2 separate regions of the Homo sapiens genome follow, and region 2 is linked to region 1. The links are contacts of gene promoters, found by promoter capture Hi-C in blood cells and fetal thymus (Javierre and others, 2016). All regions are on one chromosome and are shown on one strand. Each heading gives the region's core, a stretch centred on a gene start or on the middle of the fragment in contact. The rest is flanking DNA. Distances are from core to core; before and after follow the strand shown.

What was found. Contacts are between HindIII fragments. The CHiCAGO score rates a contact against its expected background, and 5 or more counts as called.
Region 2: a fragment that was not itself captured here is called in contact with the fragment with the promoter of VSIG8 in region 1 in 6 of 17 cell types (M2 macrophages, endothelial precursors, total CD8 T cells and 3 more); the score reaches 7.7 in M2 macrophages.

What each region holds. Positions count from the first base shown.
Region 1 is chr1:159,859,837-159,866,672 of GRCh38, reverse strand. It overlaps VSIG8 (V-set and immunoglobulin domain containing 8), which reads left to right and starts at 4,016. Exons shown (of 7, transcript NM_001013661.1): 1 at 4,016-4,200. The coding sequence starts at 4,152. LOC107985216 (a long non-coding RNA gene) reads right to left here. Exons shown (of 2, transcript XR_001738263.2): 2 at 1-6,027. RefSeq lists enhancers at 3,688-4,600, 4,601-5,515. The HindIII fragment of the contact is 16,901 bases long and covers 1-6,836 here.
Region 2 is chr1:159,156,372-159,163,207 of GRCh38, reverse strand. No RefSeq gene overlaps it. Among named protein-coding and RNA genes, the nearest start is that of CADM3, 12 kb to the left of the region's middle. The HindIII fragment of the contact is 2,208 bases long and covers 2,939-5,146 here.

The sequences.
Region 1 (6,836 bases), core at 2,767-5,266:
CAGCTTTGATTTGAGCCTTAGTTTCGAACCCAACCCACACCCTCAAACTTAGCCCCACATGTCGATCTCATCCCTCTCTGTAACCAGAATCCGACGTTGTCCCATCACCACCCATGCAACCTCTGAGCCCCCTGCCCTTCTCATGCAACCATGGCCTCACCTGGCAGACCTCCACCTCCAAATCATCACTGAAAGCTGGGTGGACAGACAGCAGCTGCAAGGCTCCTTGGCTTCTCTGTGACTCTTTGCCTATCCATTGTCACTCACAGCTTCTGCTCCCAGAGTCTTACCTCAGAGGTTTCCTCTGCAGGACAGCTCCTCCCTGGGTGCTGCAGGGTGAGCCCTGGGCTACATGGGGACTTGGGAGAGGGGGCTGAGGAGCTTGCTGACTGTGTGGGGAGGAGTTTAGAATGAGTCAAATTGCAGTGCCAGCCAAGGCAGGGGTTGTGGGGAGCTTGATTGAGCCTGAGCCCAGGGAGTCTGGCGGCCACTGAGAGGGGTTGGGGTGGGCAAGTACAGGCAGGGGAGGGCAGGGCTTAGAGGAGTGGGGTGGAGTTGCCATGAAAGGGACTTTGGAGGAAGAATAGGCTTTGGAGGAAGAGTAGGCAGCCCAAGCCCTCTGTCCGTCCTTCCCAGAAAGGTTCTGGGGCTGGGCTGCACTTCATCTGGTAAGCAATCTGTGGCCTTCTCTGAGTTTTTGTCCAGCCTCTTCCTACCTCCTGTATCTCCCTGTTTACTCCTTTCTAAGCCAGTCTTTGATTTTCTGTTACTGTCTTAGAATAGAAGCAAATACCAGTCAAAGCAGGGCCATTCTTCCCTGGAGAGTCATGGATTTCTTAGGAAAAAGCAAGGGGCCCTTTTGGAAATTTGTATTGGTTCCCAGCTCGTGGCCTGGGCCCTCTGCCTCCTCTGTATCCCTCTGAGTCTCTGGAGGGGCCATTTAGACCATGTGTCTTTCTGTCTGCCTCTGTCCCTGTCTCTGTCTTTGCCCCTTAACTCATCACTATCTCTCCCAATCTCTTTCTTCTCTCTCTCTGGGGTCACAGGGGGAACCCCAGTAGTCTCCTGGACCAGACCTTTATAAAACCTGAAAAGGAAGTGGGTGGGGAAATGAGATGTTTGGGCTGGAGACTGGTTGGGGAAAAATGAGAGGGAGGAATTGGGACGGGGTCTTCCTAGGAGTGGGGCCCTCTTCCACTGCTGAGGATAAGGCCCAGAGACTTACACGGACTGTGAGCTGGGCCCAGAGGGAGGGGACTGTAGGACTGTGACATATGCTTTGGAAACTATGCTGACACCCCAGTGCCTTCACCCCATCCACAGCCTCCCCACTGCTGCCCTCCCTGAAAACCCTGCAGGGCTCAGGGTTTAGGGCTGGAAGGCTGACAGCTTCTTTTATAGGACTCAAATTGCAAGAAGGTAGCAATTAAGCCTCAGAGGGTCAAGGGGAAACAACAATGGCACTCTGCCCTTTCAGGCTTTGAAAGACCCCCATGTGGTGCCCCATAAAGTGGCTGTTCTAGGAGCATGTAGGCCCTCAGTTTCTCCCAACTCCCATCTCCTAAGGACTCCAAATCCAGACCACCCCTCCTCCCCACTCAGTAAGACTCCCTCTGATGGACCCCATCTTCTAGTTCGGTTTGGTGTCAGAGCCCAACTCATTGTCAGTAGCTTCCTGCGTCTCCTCCCCAGATGTTTTTCTGGAGCTTGGCCAGGTGGTGAGCTTTAGTAGTGGAGCAGGACTTCAGAGGGTCCATTCTCTATGGGATTTAGTTGCCTCATACCCCTTAGATGGGCTCGTGTACATTTGGCTTCCTCCTCCAAGTCTTGGGACCCCAATCAACATGTGCCATTAGTAGTCTCCCCGCACTAAGGATTGAAAATTCTAGCCAAACCTGGATTTAGCAGATGGAGGCTGAAGTCTTTCTATATTAGAAATAAAACCTCATCTTTGATCCCCATCAACTCCCGCTGCTTACGTGTCTTTAAACCATGTTCCAACCCTAACCACAGCCTATTTCAATGTGAATCTCAAACTTAGTTCTAACCCAATGCTAAATCAATCTAAACCCAGCCTTTGATTTAGCCCTAACTGTATTCCCAGGCAGAGCTGTAAATGAAACTAAAACTCTATTCCTTATCGTAACACAAATCCCAGCCATAAACCTGAGCCTCAATTCTAGCTGTATTTCTAACCCTAATCCCAACCTTAACTCTAATCCCAACCTCAAATCTGACCTCAACCTCATTCATAATTCAACTAACCCCAAACTTAACCCCAGCTCTAACATTAGCCCACATCCAGAACCCAATTAAATCTGAAGCCTGCACTGTAGTTTAGTGGAACCACAATGTTACTGCTTTCTCCTCAATCTCTCTGTTCGTGGTCTGACCTGTTTTCCCTCCCACTCACCCTGACCTTCCATGGTTCTTGTTCGTGAGTGGGTCTAGTAATCCACAGGATCACCAAGACCATTTTTTGGACCTCTCTGGACTGACACCCTGGGTACCTGGGTATCCCAGCTTAGGCACCAGCCGCATTGGCTGAATCCCCATGTTTCTCCAGGTCTCTGTTTCCCCATCTGTAAAATGGGGATAATGATCCCTGCTCTTCAAAGGGAGCAGGACAATCCCATAAACCTAAAAATAAATAAGGAAATAAAGATATTCATTGTGTACATCTGGTAGGTCTCAGAGCGCCCTGTTATTGTTGGGAGTTCAGGTGCAACGGCTTGGAATGCAGAGACGCGTGGACTCCTTGTGTTTCCTTAATGTTCTGACTTATTTTTCCCCAGAGGGGTGGGCCCTGGCAGCATCCCTGAGCCCCATAACTCTCCCTAACACTCTTCCTCCTCTGCCCTTTCTGTGCCCCATGGTAGGGATGGGGGCAGTCCCTGACTCCTTTGAGGGAGTTGAGCTATTGAATGGGGTCACTCATGTCCTGACTCCCACCATGGAGTCCAACAAGGCACATGCCCATTCTGTCCCCCTTAGACAAGCCAACAAGGGGTGGCCCTTCACTTGCTCCCCATGCCTACCAGGACCCTCCCCACCCCAGCACGAACTTACCCAGAACTGTGCTGGTTTAGTCAGCCCGATGACCAGTCCAGGTTATGAGGGTCCTTGGTCTCAAGGACCCAGTTAATACTGGGACTGCATTAACCCTCAAGACCTGGCTACTCTTTCTGGGCAGAGAAGCCAGGACACCAAGCGATCCCTCAAGAAGTTCACTCAGAGGGGCTTAGCCATCCTCACAGAGACACCCTGACACAGACATCCTGCCTCCCTCCCACAGACATTGCTGAGGGGTGCACACGCTTACACAGGCACCCCCTTCCCTGGTCCTCTTGGCGCTGTTCTCTCCAACACTCCCTCACTAGCCCATCAGTCACCTTACTCCTAGCACACACCCTGGACCCCCCATAGCACCCCTGCTCCCAGGGGTCCCCTACACTTGGGGATGGCCTTGAGTCGAGTATGGGTGTGGAGGACAGTTCCAGAGGGGACAGCCAGGAGGAGACTCTGTTCCTGCACACACCCCTTCTCTCCTCTTTCAGCTCAGGAGGCCTGAGTCCCTTTGAAAGGCCTGAAGCCTGGGGGAAGGTGGGCTGGACACTCCTGGGGAACCCTATGCCCTGGGATCAGGATTAACTCTTCAGGTCCTGGCCACTCTTTCTCCCAAGCCTGGCTTCTCCTTCCTCTTCCCCACTTCCCCCAGGGAAGGAGGCAGCAAATGAGTGGTGAGGGGAGCCCTTGGAAGCTGTAAATGAGGTGACTGTTGTCACCCTGAGGATGTGGCCAGGAGGAAGTGAAGTTTAACAGGTGCCTAATTACAAGTCCCGCTGGCTGTCCTGTGCCACTCTTAGGACAGGGAAGAGCTTGGGTGAGGGCTGGGTAATGCCCAGGTAGGCCACCCTGTCACCCTGCTAATTAGGGTTCCTGGGACTCCTCCCCAAGGCGGGGACCAGGCCCCCTCCCTCCCATAGAAATAACTCCAGCTGCTCCCCAGCTGGGCACTCATTGCACCTTCCTGCCACCCCAGGCAGTGTCTGGGCCCTCAGCTCCCCCTCCCTCCACCTACCCCCTCACACCCACCACTACGACCCCACGGGATACCCAGCCCAGACGGAGGAAACACCGAGCCTAGAGACATGAGAGTTGGAGGAGCATTCCACCTTCTACTCGTGTGCCTGAGCCCAGGTACGGGGCTGGGCAGGGGGCAGGGTAGCCAGCATGAGGCTAGGTGGGAAGGAAAGGGGCAGCAAGGGCTCACAGTGGAGCCTGGGGCTGCCTGAGTTGCCTGGCAGGGTGCTGCCCACCCTTGCCCTGCTGCAGCCGGGTGTGGGTATTACCAGGGGACCTTTCCCCAGGAGACCCTGTGCCTGATGTTCAGGGTGTGTGTCTGTAGTGCAGAGGTCTTTGAGTGGATCTTTATATGTCCCCTGTCGGGCTCACACATGTGTGCAGGTGCCCTGCAAGCTCATGCCGTGACTAGGAGGAGAGGGATTGATTGCTCTGCAGGAGCTGGAGGTGGGGTAGGAGAGGGGTAAGCACGGGCATTGGGTGAGGGCTCAGGAGGAGCTTGGGAAGGATCAATTTTCATCAGACTGTGTGCTATTCCCAACGCTACTCCTTCTCTCCCAAGGCCAGGGCCAAGGGGCAGGGAAGTCACTTGCCTTGAAAGGGCAAGAGACTAAGTCTGGTGTAAGTCTGAGTGGTTTCTTCCATCATGGCCAGTGACAGCTCAGGCCTGAGACCTCAGCCTTGGGCCCCCTGTGCTATGACAGGGCAGTGCCCCACTCTAGGATGAGGCCTGAGGGTGGTGGGGATGGCAACTCCAGAGACTTCTCACCCCACCAGGACAGGTCCACAGGGCAGGGCTCAAGTTTGGACATTGTGGCTTCCTGCCCAGGTTGGGGCAAGTTCCACCAAGGGGCATTCTATGCCAACATCACTGGAAAGGGCTCCGAGTCCCTCTTGCAGTCTGGATTTGGGATGAAGGGGCATGAAGGAGGAATTTGGGAAGGCGGGGTGACATTTTCAGCCTTTGTGTGAGCGTGAATGTGTATGTGAGTGTGTGGGTGCGTGCACCTGCATGGGAATGATGACATTTCCGGCAGGATAGCTGCAGCCCTTCTCTGTCTGATGAGAGCAGGGCTGGCAGAGTCCACTCGGGAGGCTCCAGCTGTGCTGTGGGGACCCGGACTTCCCCCTGTGTGGTGTGTCAATGGGTGTGTGAGGACAACTCAGCACTGGCTGCATTAACGCATCAATACCCTCAGCTGGAGCCGCCTTTTCTCCCCTCCCTTACCTCCAGAGGGAAGATCAGGAGTTCTGGAAGCACCTTGAAGATTCAGAAAGAATTTGCAAGCAGAGAGTAGGCACCACTATTGAGATGACACCCCGTAAAGCATGGCCAGTTTCTGGTGCTTTTGGGGGGCAAAGAATCACCACTGTCCTCTTCCTTGGAGAGCCCATGTGATTCCTCCATTCCTGTCTCTCCTCAAGTCTCCCATCCAGCTCTCTCTTCCACTTTGCCTTTCTTCCCTCTCTCCAGCCTCTCCTCTCACATTCCCTGTAGTACTTCCTTAGTGCTACAGCAAGAGGAATCAAGGTGAGACATTAGGAGCAACTTCCCAAGGAGAGGGAGGGGTGCGGAAAGGCTGGAACCCTTGGGAGGAGGTTGAGAAGACTTCTAAGGAGATAGAAAAGCTGGGTGAGGCTCCCTGGTCTGGGACAATTGAAGAATCTCTCAGCCTGGTGCAGGGTGGAGGTGCTTTTCTTGCAGCCTGTCGCTCCTTCCCAAGCCCCTCTCCCTGAATGCTTACCATCCTGCCTGGCAGGCTCCTATGGCATGGAGAGAGTCCTTCCTGTGTGGGTGCTTCCAGCGGTGCTTCTCCAGGGTGGAGCCTCTGCTCTCAGCCGAGTTCTGGCTCATCCCTGGCTTGCCTTGAGCAGCCTCAGGATCTGGCAGATGGCAGCAGGATCCTTATCTCAGGAATGAGCTGTTGTTCTCTTGGCCTGGAGCTGGAAGAGGCATCACTAGGTCCCGTTAGAGCCCCAGCAGTCAGCCTGCCTGCTCTGGGTCACCTTGGAGTCTAGCTGGGTTATGACAGAGCTGATGGCCCAGCCAGTGTTCCTAGGGGGGATGTTCAGGGATCCCTGAGCTGTTGAGGGTGTTGAAAGGGCCCTTGCTGGCCTCTCTGGAGCCAGGCTAAGCCTTCCTGGCAGGGCTTCCATAGATATGTCTGGTCTTGAATGAACACATACAGGGACTATATGAACACACGGTGGGTGTGTCTTTTGAATTAATATGTTCTGTGTTTGTGTGCAGATTGTGTCTGTGTCTGAATGAATCTATATAGTGTCTGTGTTTGTAGGAAGGTGGGGCCATATAGGTATGTATCTGCATTTTGAAGCCTTGTAAGAGTGGGCCACGTGCCGATTTGTTTGCCTGTGATGGTGTAATTGTGTGTGTGCATGTGTGAGATCTCTATGTGTAAACATGGTCCTGAGCCACATGATAGAACAGAATGATTGCTGAGACCTGGGGCTGTGACTCCAGAAGACATGTTGACTCAAAAAAGAACGCAGACGGAGAGTGTGTGAGGCCTGGTGAGGGGCCTGCAGAGGCAGGGTTGCTGGAGACTGGGAGGTGGAGGGCAGAGTGTCCAGGGTGGGGCCCTGGCTACACCCCCCGGTCTTATCCCTCTCTAGGTCCAACCGGTTGGGGATAGGCCTGCCTGGGGCTTCAGGGTAGGGAGGGACAAGAGCTCAGTCCTGAGCTCCTGGGTCCTGGGATCCTGGCTCCTCACCCAGGATTGCCTGCCACTGAC
Region 2 (6,836 bases), core at 2,793-5,292, 700 kb after region 1:
GATCCAAACAGTTACCTGGAGCCACCTGTTACAAATGATACAGATGCTTAGGATATTTCGGTTCTAGGTTAACAATAAAGATTGCTGACCATAGTGCTAACAGGTGCTCCCAGGTGATTCCTATGCCCTGACAAGCCTGAGAAATGACTCACCATAGCCTGGGTCTACTGACAAGAGCTCATTAGCTCCTGAGGGAACCATACGTGTAAGTAGCTCATTAGAACACAGTTGTGTTAAGGTGTAAAACCAAAAAATATCACTGAGTCTTTCAACAAATTTTCTTGACTCTTCCTCTCCAGCAATTGCTGACCTTGTTTGTAAGATCCTGTGTAATCTGGCGTTTCCCTATCTCTCTAACCTCATGTAACCCCATGGCCACAGTATCTGTTTTTTGTTTGTTTGTTTGTTTTTTGTATCTCCACCACATCAAGCCCATTCCCATTCTATGCCATTGCACTGGCTCTTCCTTCTGAACCAGAACGCTCCTGCCCTGCTTCATGCTAAGCCACTTCTGCTTTTACATCTCAGCCTAAATTAACTTCCTCAAAAAGGCCATCTCATTCCCTTGCAATCACTTGTCATTTTCTTCTATTTTCCTAATAATTTATCTTTTGTTTATTATTGTCTTTATTCCTTCTCCCAGTAAATGTAAATTCCATGAGGAAACAAACCCTGTCAACTTTGATCAAAGTCGAGTTGCCAGGAACTTAGGGGATATTGCACATAACAGTAGCTGGCACATAATAGGTGCTTATTAAATGCTGGTTTATTTAGAGAAGAGCGTTCACATTCTTTGATTTTACACTTTGATTTTTACAAGCAAGAACTTTTGTCTTAGGTCCAAAGTAAACCTCCTACTGCCATTTAAGACTTTTTTCCTCTGGTTCATGAAATAAGATATCTCTTTCTTTTTATGAGCCTCTATATAATGTCCCTCTAGAGGATTTAAGACTGTTATTAAATTGCCCCTTAACCTCCTCTACATTAGGTGAAATGTCCTAATTCTTAACCTTCTGCCATTTCTTTTATCATTTTAGTACTTTTTCTCTGATCCTTTTCACTTAAATAGTTTTGTTCAGGACAGGTCCAGTAGGTGAGTGAGGCTATGGCTGATGGTCATGAGTTGAACATGATAAGCTATGATATGCTATTCCATGCCCTCTTGTATGTTTTTTACTGTTCTTTATTTTTAACCTGTTTCTTTTCAGATTATTTTTAATCTGTTTCTTGTGGTGCATTTTGGTCTTAAAATCTTTTTAAACCCTAAAATCCCAGAGCTTGCTATTACTGAAAGTAGTATGCCCTAGCAAGGTGACATCTGTTGAGGTTTGCCACCAGTTTCCAGTCCCAGGGCTTCCTTGTGGACCGCTGTGCCTGTGTGCCCATACCTGTCAGGCTGATGACTGCTGCTGCTATTCCTTGTGGCTAAGCCAAGAATGGATGCAGATACATTTGGTGTTCTCACCATGTTCACAAAAGGCCATAGCTTTTTTTCATGTGGACTGTGAAGGCCTAGGAACGACTGTGTGTGCTGCTTTGAGAAAGTTAACCAGGTTCTGGGCCCAGCTCCAAGGAGACACTTCTGACTCATTGGAAAGGCAGAAGAGTGCAGGAGAGTGAGAAAGCCTGGATTTAGAAAGTGGACTCATCTGGGCTTAAATACCAGCTGTGCCACTTATGTCATTTGAGATCAGTCTTTTCATGTGTTAAACATCAGACATTGTTATTGTCTATCTTGTAGGCTTATAAAGATTATTAAATGAGGACATTTATGTAAAACTCCTAGCATAGAACCCAATACATGTTTGTTAGTTACCTTTCTCTGTGACCTCTTCACCCTAGAGCAGGGAGATGTTCCTCTGTTTCTCTGAGTGTACCATAGAATCTTGCCCTGTGTTCACTGTCCGAGTATAAAGCACTGCTTGGATCTAGATTTTCAGTTCCAATAACTTTTTTCACTTTCGCCAAGGTCTCTCTGTTAACCTGCTCTCTGCTACCCTCGTGTGGCCACCCTGACCCTTTGTCATTCCTGATCCTCTGCTCCCTCAGTGTGGTGACTTTGCTGTAATGCAGCCTCTCCCAGACTTCTTGGCAGACCCAACTCCCACCTCCTCCAAGTTTTAACACACACTTGAAACATTTTTCAGTTTAATTTTAGTCTTCTCTTCTCAGGTAGTGTTATCTCAGTTCTTCTAACCTTTTCTCACTTCTTTTTAATATTTACCGATCTGTCAAAGACTGCATGAATTCTTTCCTGCATGTTGAGAGTTTGGACCCAGTGAGGTCTCCTCAAGCTTCAGATCACATTATCTGTTTCCTTGCTCAACACCAAGTTCTCTTTCCCATGAATGACGAAAAAACAAGTTGACCCTTGAACAACATGGATTTGAACTGTGTGGATCCACTTATACATGGATTTTTTTTTCAATAAATACAGTTTGCCCTCTGTATCTCCAGGCTCCATATCTGCAACCAAACAATATTCTCCGGATGGGCAAACTGCAGATAGGGAGGGCAGACTTTTTCTATATGCCAGTTTCCTGGTTCTGCTGGTTCCGCTGTTTTCACAGGGTCAATTGTAGATCTTGAGTATGTGCAGATTTTGGTATCCTGTGGCAAGGGTGTGGGCGTCCTGCAGCCAATCCCCAGCAGATACTGAGGGATGACTGTATTGTCGTAGATTATTTAATCATAAAAAGCTCTATTTTTCCCCCTGCAAACTCAAATCTGTTTAAGTTAATAAGGAAAAGTATACCTATTCTTGCCTTGTTAAAGGGTAATGATGGATCTTGGATAGACCCAGAATGTTAGCACTTCAAAGTGAGGATGTGTAGACAAAGAATATAACTGCTTTATCCCTTTCCTAATTGCATGGCATCTCTAGCACAGGGAATGAAGGATTATTTAGGATAGAATCAGTATACTGGTTTGAAAAGCTTTGTGGATGAAAAATAAGGGAAATCAATTTGATGAGATGGCTAGTTTAAACCAAATTTGGGAGGTGGGATTTGAAAACTAGACACTGAAGAGCTTTATCTTTATCCCAATGTCAGTTGGAAAAAAAATTGTAGCAGGACGTTATGTTGTTGAATTGGTATTTAAATATTAATTCTAAGATTCATTGTGGTAAAGATGGTAATTTTTAATTTATAAATTTGATGCAATACTATGCTAAATTCCAATAAGATATTTTATGGAACTTGACTAGCCTATTCTAACATTCCCTTGGAAGATAAAGTCAAGAGTAAATAGCCATAATTTTTTAAACACATGGGGCTAAGGGGGAGGATGATTTTCTAGCTATCCTAAGCAACTTTAAAATTATAGCAATTAAAACATGAAATCTTGGCACAGGAATACATAAATAGAACCATGGAGCAGAAGAGAGAGTGTAGTTACAAACCAACTTGGAAATTTAGTGTATGAAGAGTGCTACCTTCATTATATACTACACTTCTAATCAGTGACTAGAGGGTTGTACTGTTTAAAGACATTAGAATAATTGGTTATCTGTTTGTCAGTTGGTATGGGATAGGTTTAGCCTTTCCTTATGCCATATACGACAATATATTTCAGGTGGACTTGTGCTAAATTTTATAAACCAAACAACACTAAAAATGTTTGCAAAAACTGTCGAAAAATATACTTAATCTTAGAGTGGGAAAGACCTTCCTAAGCAAGACACAACACCTAGAGTCGATAAAGGAAAGGACCGATAAGATTTACTGCATAATTTTTAAAACTGATATAATTGCAGACCCATAGACAAAATGTAAAAGTAAGTCACAGACTGGGAAGATTTTATTTGCAATATATATGCCAAAGTATCAAAATTGCTAACATGCAAAATAGTCAGCAAATAAACATAAAAAAGACAAACAGTCCAAGAGAAAATTGGGCAAAGGATATGAGTATGAATTCTCAGAAAAAAAATACAGTTGTCTAATAAACATTTGAAAAGATGATCAACGGCATTTGGATTTTGAGAAATACAAGTTATAGCACCAAAGAGATCCTAGACTGTTAAAAAGCATCAAAGAACCCATCAGATTGTTAAAAAATTAAAATGATGGATAATACTCAGTGTTGGCAAGTGCTTAGGGAAATAGGCACCTTTATATATTGTTAGGGAGGATGTAAATTGGCACAGCCTTTTTGGAGATATTTTGGCAGAATGCATCAGAATTAAAAATAGAAATACCAGCAGTGCTATTTCTACAAATTATGCTATAGATCTGTTCACACATGAGTGCTCTGATTTATGTGCAGAGATATGCATCACATCATTTTTTTCCAGTAGTGAAAAATTGAAGACAACATAAATATTCATCAATAGTGAATTGGATAAATAGATTATGCTATATCATACTTTGTAATAACACATTGCAGTTAAAAAGAATGAGGTAAATTTATATCTACCAACATAGAAAGATACAGAAGGTATGTTGTTCAGTGAAAATACAAAGAAAATACACATACTGCTATCCCTTTTGTGTAAAATGGGAAAAAAGCATAAAACATATACATATGTGTATGTAAAATCTTATATGCATATAAATATGTGTTTAAGTAAATGAATAGTTACTTACTGGCTGTGTGACTTCAGGCAAGATACTTAACCGCCTCAGCATTTTTTTTCATTGTGTGGAAAATAGAGATAATTTTACATGACCCCTAGGGTGGTATGATGTGAAAATTAAATAAATTAATCTATTTAAATTGCTTTAAATAGCGCCTGGCACATAGTAGGCACTTGAGTGTTTCTATTGTTCAGATGCATATTAAACTTGGAAAATTATTTTCTGGGCCAGGAGTGAGACTTAAGTCATAAGGGGGACTATAATTGTCCATATTATATACTTCATATTTTTATAATGTGTGCCTATGTATTGAATGATTAATTTTTTTTAAATTAAATGCTTATTCTAAGAATATGAGTTAAAAGATGATTATAGAAATCCAGGAACAAAGTAAAAGAGTCCTGAGCAAGGGCAGTGGAATTGGGAATGGAAAAGAGGTGCTACGTTTGGTGTTGGTTATGGGAAGCAAGACAGAGGGAGAAGGCTGAGGCAGCTCTCAGTTTTGGCTTTTGAGTGACTTGGAAAATGCTGAACCATGAAAAGAAATAGTGGAATTAGGAGAAGCTTTTTGTGGGGTTTAGTATTTTGGAATGAAGGAGGATTAGTGTCTTACTTGAGGCTGCTAAAACAGAATACCATAAACTATGTGGCTTAAACAACAGACTTTGGTTTCTCACAGTTCTGGAGGCTGGGAAGTCCAAGATCAAGGTACTGGTGGATTTGATTCCTGTTGAGTGTCCTCTTCGTGGTTTGCAGACAGCCACCTTCTCAATGTGTCTTCACATGGTGGAAAAAGAGATTGTCTCCCTGTGTCTCTTCTTATAATGACACTAATTCCATTTATTAGAGTTCCACCTTCATGACCAAATCACCTCTCATAGGACTCACATCTAAATACATGAGGGATTAGAGTGTTAACATCTAAATTTGCAGGAGACATAATCAATTTGTAACAATTTTGTTAGATTACATTGAGTTTAAGCTGAGGGCAACCCATCAAGTAGGAAATATTGAATAGACTGGATATGAAAACTGGAGCTCTGGAGAAAGTTGAACGTTCTACCACTTTGAAGTAGACCAGCAGAAGAAGCCTAAAGTTCTCAGTGTCATTTTAAGAGTTCCCATCTAATACTTGCATTACAAAAATCAAGAACTGTGGTATTATAGGATGATATGTGTCTAGGAGGACAAAGACCTGTTCTAGTGGTTTTGATTGTTGATTCTTTTTCTTTGGTAAACATACATTGAACAACTACCATGTGCCAGGCACTGCCCAGACTATCAAGGGTAAAAAAACTCAAGTTTCTCTCTCTCTGGTAGGAACAGAGATTCACAAAATTGAGTACGTTACAGAGTGCTCAGTCCTCCGATAGCCATATGCACAGGGTGCAGTAATGGTGTGAAGATGGGTGTGATCCAGTCTGCTTGGGGTTGTGGTGGATGTCAGGGAAGATATTATAAAAAATGAGGTGATTGAAACTGAGTCTTCAAAGAGGAGGAACAGTCTTCCAGACAGATGTGAGGGTGGAGACAGGAGAAAGGCATTCCAAAAAGAGAAACCATTGCAGCATACCAAGTCATATTAGTATGGAAAACGAACCTTTTTTTTTTCATTTTGAGAACTCTAAGTACTTATTGTAAAATGTAAGCTGAGAGGGGAGGCTGGGGGATAATAGTAACTGATGTTGCAAAAATGGACGGGAATCAGATCACAGATGGCTTTTAGTCTCTTCTTTAGACAAGAGAGAACTTTAAGGGGTTTTGCCTTCAAGAAAAATTATAATTGCTCTGTTGGTGGTGTAGCTGATTGGCAGAAAGGCAGCAGGGATGGTTACACGTAGACAAGTGAGGGATTATTAACATATCAAATAGTCCTGGCTGCATCATCCTGATACCAAAGCCTGGCAGAAACACAACAAAAAAAGAGAATTTTAGACCAATATCCCTGATGAACATTGATGTGAAAATCCTCAATAAAATACTGGCAATCCAAATCCAGCAGCACATCAAAAAGCTTACCCACCATGATCAAGTCAGCTTCATCCCTGGGATGCAAGGCTGGTTCAACATACACAAATCAATAAACGTAATCCATCACATGAACAGATCCAACGACAAAAACCACATGATTATCTCAATAGATGCAGAGAAGGCCTTTGACAAAATTCAACACCCCTTCAAGCTAAAAACTCTCAATAAACTAGGTATTGATGGAAGGTATCTCAAAATAATAAGAGCTATTTATGACAAACCCAC